3 separate regions of the Homo sapiens genome follow, and regions 1 and 3 are each linked to region 2. The links are contacts of gene promoters, found by promoter capture Hi-C in blood cells and fetal thymus (Javierre and others, 2016). All regions are on one chromosome and are shown on one strand. The core of a region is centred on a gene start or on the middle of the fragment in contact, and the rest is flanking DNA. Distances in the headings are between cores, read along the strand shown. Region 1 overlaps LOC105371446 (a long non-coding RNA gene). Region 2 holds the start of LCE1F (late cornified envelope 1F). Region 3 has its middle 15 kb from the start of LCE3A.

Region 1 (2,700 bases), core at 41-2,540, 240 kb before region 2:
CGACGCCAAGCGCAGATATAGACACTGACAGAAAAGAAAACTACAGACCAATATCTCTTAAGAACATTGATGCAAATATCTTTAACAAATGTTAACAAGTTGAATTCAGCAGTATATTAAAAGGACTATATGCCATGACCAAGTGGGATTTATTCCTGAATGCAAGAATGGTTCAACATATGAAAATTGACCATTATAATATATCACATTAAAATAACAAAGAAAAGCATCACATAATCATCTCAACTGATGCAAAGAAAGCATTGGACAAAATTTGACATTCTTTTATTATAAAAACACCCAACAAACTAAGAATAGAAGAAAACTTTCAACATTCTAAAAGTCATGTGAAAAAACCACAGCCAACATCACACTCAATGGTGAAAGACTGAAAGCTTTTTCCTTAAGATGAAGAAAAGGCAAGGATGTCTTCTTTTGCCACTTCTACTCAATGTAGTCCTGGACATTTTAGCCAGAGTAATTAGACAGGAGAAAAAACAAAAGGTATCCAAATTGGAAAAGAAGTAAAATTATCTCTATTAATAGATGATATGACCGGAAGATTCTATAAAAAGTTGTTAGAACTAATAACACATTATAGCAGGATACAAGGTCAATGCACAGAAATCAATTATGTCTCTATGTACTAATAATAAAAAATCTGAAAGAAAATTAAGAAAAAATTTTATTTATAATGGAATGAAAAAGAATAACATACTTAGGAATTAACAGAGGTAGTTATAGACTTTACAATAAACTATAAAACATTGTTGAAATAAATTAAAGAAGACATAAAATAAATGGAAAGACATCTGTGTTCATGACCTGGAAGACTTAACATTGTTAAGATGTCAATGCTACCCAAAGCGATCTACAGATTCAGTGTAATCTCTATCAAAATCCCAATGATGTTTATTGTAGAAATATGAAAACCCATCCTAAAATCCATCTGGAATCTCAAGGGATCCTGAATAGCCAAAAGAATCTTGAAAAATAAGAGCAAAGCAGAAAGAGTCACACCTGTTAATTTCAAAACTTACTATGAATCTCTAATAATCAAAAGTGTGGTATTGGCATGAATACAGACATTTAAACCAGTAGAATACAACTGAGAGCCCAGAAATAAACTATCAAATACATGATACAGTTATTTTTGAAAGGACAGCCTTTTCAACAAATGGTGCTGGGAAAACTGGATATCCACATGCAAAAGAATAAGGTTGGACTCTTGCCTAAGACCGCATATAAAAATTAAACTCAAGGTGGATTCATGACCTAAATGTAAGACCTGAAACTATAAAGCTCTTCAAAGAAAACATAGGGTAAAAACTTTACAACACTGAATTTAGCAATGATTTTTTTGGATATGACACCAAAGGTAGAGACAACAACAAATAATAGATAAATTGGACTTAGTAAATTAAAAAGTAATGTATACTAAAAGAATGTCTTCAACACTGAAAAAGGGAACTCACTGAATGGGAAAATATATTTGCAAGTCATATATATCGTATGGGATTAATATCCAAAAGGCATAGAGAAGTCCTGAAACTCAACAACCAACAAAACCAAATGTCCCAATTAAAAAAATAGGAAAACTAGGTAAATAACTTGCCTAAGCATTTATTTAAATAAGTTCAGAAAACATTGGCCAAGGTATACCATGGCCAATAAGAACATGAAAAGATACTGAACATCACTAACCATTAGAGAAATGTAAATCAAAACTACAATGAGATACCACCTCATATCCATTAGGATGGCTACCATCAAAATGCCAGAAAATAGAAAGTGTTGGTGAGGACGTGGAGAATTTGGAACCTTTGTGCACTGTTGGTAGTAGTTTAAAATGGTACAGCTGCTCTGGAAAACAGTATGACCTTTTCTTAAAAAATTAAAACTAGAGTTACAATATGAACTATAAATTCCATATCTGGGTATATACTTCAATGAATTGAAAGCAGGGACATGAAGAGATATTTATATACCCATGTTCATAGCAGTATTATTCATAATAGCTTAAATGCGGAAGCAACGCAGGTGTTCATTAATGGAAGTATGAATAAGACAAATGTGGCATATACCTATGGTGGAATATCATTTGGCCTTAAAAAGGAAGGAAATTCTTACATATGCTATGACATAGATGAATCTTGAGGATATTATTCTAAGTGAAATAAGCTTGTCATTAAAAGATAAATACTCTATTATTCCACTTACATGAGGTACATAGAATAGTCAAAATCCTGGAGACATAAAATAGAGTAGTGGTTGCCAGGGCCTGGGGAAAGGAGAAAATGGGTTGTTATTTTTATGGGTATAACATTTCAGTTTTACAAGATGAAAAGAGTTATGGAGATGGATGGTGGTGATGATTACATAGCAATACGAGTGTAATTAATATCACTGAACTATATATTTAAAATGGTTAAAATGATAAATGTTATGTATATTTTATTACAACAAAATATTTTTAAAAAGACATGAAGAACTGATTAATACCAGAACACAAATGAGCCTTGAAAACTTTATTCTAAGTGAAAGAAAGCAGTCACAAAAGACCATGTATTATATAATGTCATTCATTTGAAATGTCCAGGGTAGGAAAATCTACAGAGACAGAAAGTAGATTAGTGGTTGCTTAGGGTTGGGGGAGAGGGTAAAAAAATAGGAGGATGATAGCTGAAGGTGGCATTTTCT
Region 2 (2,700 bases), core at 164-2,663:
TGCAGCAGCCCCCAGAGCTGGAGCCACAGCAGCCTCCGGAGCTGACGCTGCAGCAGGAAGAGACAGGAGGGCACTTAGGGGGACACTTTGGGGGGCACTTCGGTGTGGGGCACTTGGGAGGGCACTTGGGAGTGCACTTGGGAGGGGGCTGGCACTGCTGCTGGCTCTGCTGGCAAGACATCTCGGTGGCGGGTGTTCAGGAGCTGAAGGAGGGTCAGACAGCAAGTTAGATGGAGGCAGAGGACACCCCTGCCTATTCTTGTCCTTTCTGCATTATTTCTAGATCCTTCATTTTGAAAGCCTTATATCAAACATAGGAAAATCACCTCTAATGTTTTTATCACTCTCAATGTTTACCAAGTGCTTTCATTCATGGATTCTCATTTCAAACCTTATTTGAGATGTTGTCATGCAATATATAATCTCCAAATATGTAAATAAAGTTTCTGCTCATTAAAAGCTCCTAAGTGTGGGAGAGAAGTCCAGGAAATAAATTGGCTCCGGGCCAGCATTCATTCTATCACATCACCAAGAATTCTGAAAATGTTCAATGTTGAGACCAGTTTAGAGATGAAAATCTCTTTAAGGAAAAATCAAAATAAATTTCTATTGGAAGAACTGATATATTTCAGTTTGCAGAAATAGAGAAAACTATAACCGCAAAGGATGTTGGAGTCAATTTGTTCCAACCAACTCAATATATAAATAAAGAAACTGAAGCCAAAAGAGGTAACTTCACTGGCCCAAAGTTATTCATTAACAGTCACATTTGTTCCGGGGTCCCCTGGTTCCCATCCTGGGCTCTGCCCTTTAGCACATCCTGCCTCCCCAGGCCTGTCCCCAGGCACTGTCACATGGCTTTTAAACTCCAGTGTGCACTCAGTTTTCCACTACAGATCTTCTTGTTGGCATCTAACAAGATCCACAGGTGTCTTTGATCCTTTCTTCCTCTAAGTAGCAGTGTTCTCAGCATATCTTTTCTAAAAGTGAGTATGTCTGTATTTCCAAAATTATATTCCCACTATGCAGCCCACTCTAGCAACATCCAGTGGCCAATGTGTTTATTCTCTAAAACCAGAGAAACACACTGAGCAACTGAAAACAATTTGGTTCCTCTAAATCTGTGTCATACAGCCCTTCAGATCTTACCAGTTCTTCTTAATCTCTCTCACTCCACCCCACCCCTCTACCTCCTCTTTCCAATTTTCTGCCCCCACCCCATTCCTTGCCAATCACAATTCCAGGCCCCTGAGGCCCTGCCTAGACTCTACTCCTGCCCTGGTCTGAGTATCCATCCCCTCCTTCCCTGGCCTGGGCATCCCTCTGTGGAAGCCCCTGCTCCTTTTTCCAGGGCACACTTACCAGGATCACAGGCAGCACAGGGTTCTTCAGCACCGCAGGAGGTGAGTGGATGGGATGCTCTGGCCCTGAGCCCTTTTATTCTGTCCTTGGGTGCTGCCTCCAGCGGTGAGACAGAGCCTGGGCATGAGAGGACCTGCCTCCCGACACCCACATAGGTCTTGTGACGAGTGGTGACTGGCAGTTCTGCATATACCGTCCTTCATTGGTGTTCAGGGGAGCTGCTGTCAGCTAGGAAAGAGCTTGGTGGAAATGGGGGCTTGTGGTGGGTGAAAATGGACATCATGGTTCCTGGAGTCCTCCGTGGCCTATTTCCTATGAAGATGGCTCTCTTCACAGTCTTGTAGTCACACTTATGAATTCTGCACAAACAACTCATTTTTCCTTCTATTCTAGATACTAATTTTCCATCTAGACCTTTGGGTCCATATAGCTTGGTTAAAAATCCACATGCCTGCATTATGGGGTTTGTCCATGTGCACATGGGCATGTGTGTGCATCATAGAAGTCGAGAAAAGAGGCCTTGGAGACCCTGGCAAAGTATTCAATATTTTTGGCCATTGGCTTTCTGATGTTTTAAATGAAGATAATAAGAGAAATATCTTTTCTGCAGGATTTACAAATTAATTAAGATAACAAAGGGGAAGTAGCTGAGATAGTATGTGGCATGTGGTTATAATTAGGAAATGGATGAATAGGTAGATAGATAGATAGATAGATAGATAGATAGATAGATAGAAAGAAAAATAGAGGCAAACCTGAGATTTTAATGGACATTGGGAATTTTTAAAGTCACAGGTGCCTTTTAAGTTAGGTGGCTCTTATTAAAACTAAAGGCCATTTTTTTTTCCTCCTACGTACCTCAGTGAATAGGGCTTTCTGAAGGTAGATCCAGAGTGGGTATAAGAAAAGAGGACTAAAGGATGTATATTGCCCCAAATTATAGCATAAAAGAATTTGCAGTTTCCTGAGGAAAAGCTGAAGGGATGAGGTAAAATAAAGATGAGAAGGGTGAAGAGAAGAGAACAGCCAATGAGGTGGCTTTGAACTGTGACTTGGAGTGGTGTAGTTGGTATAGACAAGAATAGACATAGTCAATATTTAATTTGAAATTATTGGCTTTGTTGCAATACACATTTCCTGGGTTTAATTTCCCAGTTTCCCATGCTCAAAACTAACCAAATGCAAAATCTAACAATAAAAAACCAATATTTGAAAAATAAATATGGTCAAAATTACATATAACATCAAAGAATTATTGGATGGTTTTAGCAGATTATAAGTTGCAGAAGAACAGATCGGTGAACTTGAAGAAATTGTTCAAACTGAACTGAAGAAAGG
Region 3 (2,700 bases), core at 105-2,604, 140 kb after region 2:
AAAAAAAAGACTGGATAATTTAAACACAATAGTTTATTTGGCTTACAGTTCTGGAGGCTGGGAAGTCCAAGAGCATGGTGCTAGTATCTGGTAAGGGTTATTCTGTGGCAGAAGGCAGAAGGCAGAAGGCCAAGTGAATATATGAGACAGAGAGAAAATGGGGACTGAATTTATTCCTTTATCAGGAACCCACTCCTGCAACAACTAGCCCACTCCCATGACAACAGCACTAATCCACTCATGATGGTGGAGCCCTCATGGCCCAATCACCTCTGAAAGGCCCAAATTTTCAACACTGTTACAATGGCAACCAAATTGCAACATGAGTGTTGGAGGGGACATTTAAACTATAGCAGAAAAACAAAACAATTTTAGTCTCTATCCTCATGGAGGTAATAAACTCATGGCTAAAGCAGCCAATTATGCAAGAAATTACTACAAAATGTGGACTGTGGGAGTATATAGTAAGATAACCCAAGATAGTCTATGTAGGACTGAAGGGAGCTGGTTAATAAGAGTACCTTCTCAATGATAACAGCCTACACCACCTCTCTGCTGCCCAAGACCCATCACAGACACGAGGCAGACTTTCACTGCCATTGAGACAAACACTAAGAATGGGTAACATGATGACACAAATGATGCCAAGGACTTCCAAGAATACAGAGCAATAACTCTCATACAGACTTTTTAAAAAATTACTTGGTAGTATCTAGTAAAACTGAGCATATGCACAACTTGTGACCTATTCCCCAAATATAATCCTCCAAAATCCACACGTATATGTACCGAAGGCATATATAAGAATGGTCATGGCAGAACTACTTGTAACAAACAAAAAACTGAAACCTAACCAAATGTCCTTTAATCAGAGAATTAAGTGTGGAATGCTTACCCAATTAAATACTATATCACTATGAAAATTGACAAACTATAACTTCACACAATACTATGGATGAGTCTCATAAACATAATGCTGAGCAAAGAAACCAGATGCAAAAGAGCACTTAGCATATGGTTTCATTTCTATAAAGTTTGAAAACAAGCAAAATTAATCCATACTGTTAAAAATCAGGATAACAGTTACCTTTGGTGTGGATGGGAATAACGGTAACTCGAAAGGGGAGTAAGGAGAGCTTCTAAGATGCTGGTAATCATTTCTCTGTTGATCTGGGTGTTGTTATGTAAGTGTGTTACCTTTTTGAAAAAGCATCAGGCTGTATACAATGATTGTGTGCTTTGCTTTATGCATGTAATACTTCAATTAAGTTATCTTTTAAAACTCAGGAATTTCTCTCCCAGCAATAGCCAACTATGTTGTTTTAGCTTCCCAATAAGAACAGCTAAAATATGTGGACAATATGTTTCTAAACTCCTTTGAAGACCGAGAAGAGGGACTAAGGTAGATTTCTGGATTTAGCAAATAAAAATACAAGACACCCAATTAAATGTAAATTTCAGATAAACAATAACTTTTTAGTATAAATCTCCAATACTACATAGTATATACTTACACTAAAAATGTATTCGCTGGTTATCCATTGTTTAAATTTAACTGGCCATCTTATATTTTATCTTGCAAGCCTATTCCAAGGCAGTGAAAACAGATGATGTCAAGACGTGGAAACAGAGGGTCTTCAAGCAGGGTGGGTCAGATATTTGGGACATGTATTCCCTGCAGCCATTTGTGAATGCTGAAAGTGAAAGTGGTGGCTAAGAAGCTGAGAGGCCAAATCAAGATTTTAGCATCTCACCAGGAAGGAGTTCAGAGCTTGACAAGAAGGAGTGCAAGAAACACCAGGCCTCAGGTGGATCCCCAAGCACTAATAGTAGAAGAAGTTTGTGCATGGGATGCCTAATCATTCTTGGAACTGTGGTTTGATATCTTTTGTCAGTATGTCAAAATTCAGAGTGATTATTTCTTCATGTACTGCTTATTTCTGTTCTCTCTCTTCTTCTGGGATTCCAAGTATTATTATCTAGATATTAGAACTTTTCACTATAGTCCATATATATTTTGTATTTTTTTTTTATTTTCTGGTTGTTTGTCTTCCCTTGCTTCAATATTTTCTTCTGTCCAATCTAACAGTTGCTAATTATCTCTTCTGTTGTGCTGTCTGTTATTTAACCTCTCTACTGAGTTCTTAATTTTGGTTATTAATTTTTCAGGTCTAGACTTCCATGTTGTTACCTTTTGGAATTTGTAGATCCCTGTGCAAGTTTTCCACCTTGCCTTTTAATTTATTCAGCATACTAATCATAGATATTTTCAAATATGTATCTCATAACTATACTAGCTAGATATCCTCTGGTCTGTTTGCATTGCTTGTTTTCTCTTACTTTTTCTAGTCAAATTTTTAAAAATATATTTGGTTTTTTTTCATTAATTGTAGAGCTCTATATGAAAAATTTATAGAAGTCATTTAGTCTCTAAATGTCGATTTTATTTTCTTTCTAGCAAGCATCTAGGCTGGGAGCACTAACACTCCCAGGTAATACCAATCTGATCAGGGGCTAAGATCATTCAAAGCCTGGCTTCAGTCTCTTTGCAGAATTGCAGGCTGCTTTTATTTTTGGGACAGAGTCTTGCTCTGTCTCCCAAGCTGGAGTGTAGCGGTGCGATCTTGGCTCACTGCAACCTCTGCTTCCCAGGCTCAAACGATTCTCCTGCCTCAGCCTCCCAAGTAGCTGGGACTACAG

The links. Contacts are between HindIII fragments. The CHiCAGO score rates a contact against its expected background, and 5 or more counts as called.
Region 1: a contact is called between a fragment that was not itself captured here and the fragment with the promoter of LCE1F in region 2, in 1 of 17 cell types (M2 macrophages). The highest score is 5.2, in M2 macrophages.
Region 3: a fragment that was not itself captured here is called in contact with the fragment with the promoter of LCE1F in region 2 in 1 of 17 cell types (M2 macrophages); the score reaches 5.5 in M2 macrophages.

What each region holds. Positions count from the first base shown.
Region 1 is chr1:153,013,316-153,016,015 of GRCh38, reverse strand. It overlaps LOC105371446 (a long non-coding RNA gene), which reads right to left. Exons shown (of 3, transcript XR_922151.2): 2 at 2,221-2,281. Among named protein-coding and RNA genes, the nearest start is that of SPRR3, 13 kb to the right of the region's middle. The HindIII fragment of the contact is 1,786 bases long and covers 398-2,183 here.
Region 2 is chr1:152,773,853-152,776,552 of GRCh38, reverse strand. LCE1F (late cornified envelope 1F) reads right to left here and starts at 1,413. Exons shown (of 2, transcript NM_178354.3): 1 at 1,363-1,413; 2 at 1-203. The coding sequence starts at 181. The HindIII fragment of the contact is 9,364 bases long and covers 1-2,700 here.
Region 3 is chr1:152,636,396-152,639,095 of GRCh38, reverse strand. No RefSeq gene overlaps it. Among named protein-coding and RNA genes, the nearest start is that of LCE3A, 15 kb to the right of the region's middle. The HindIII fragment of the contact is 4,038 bases long and covers 1-2,700 here.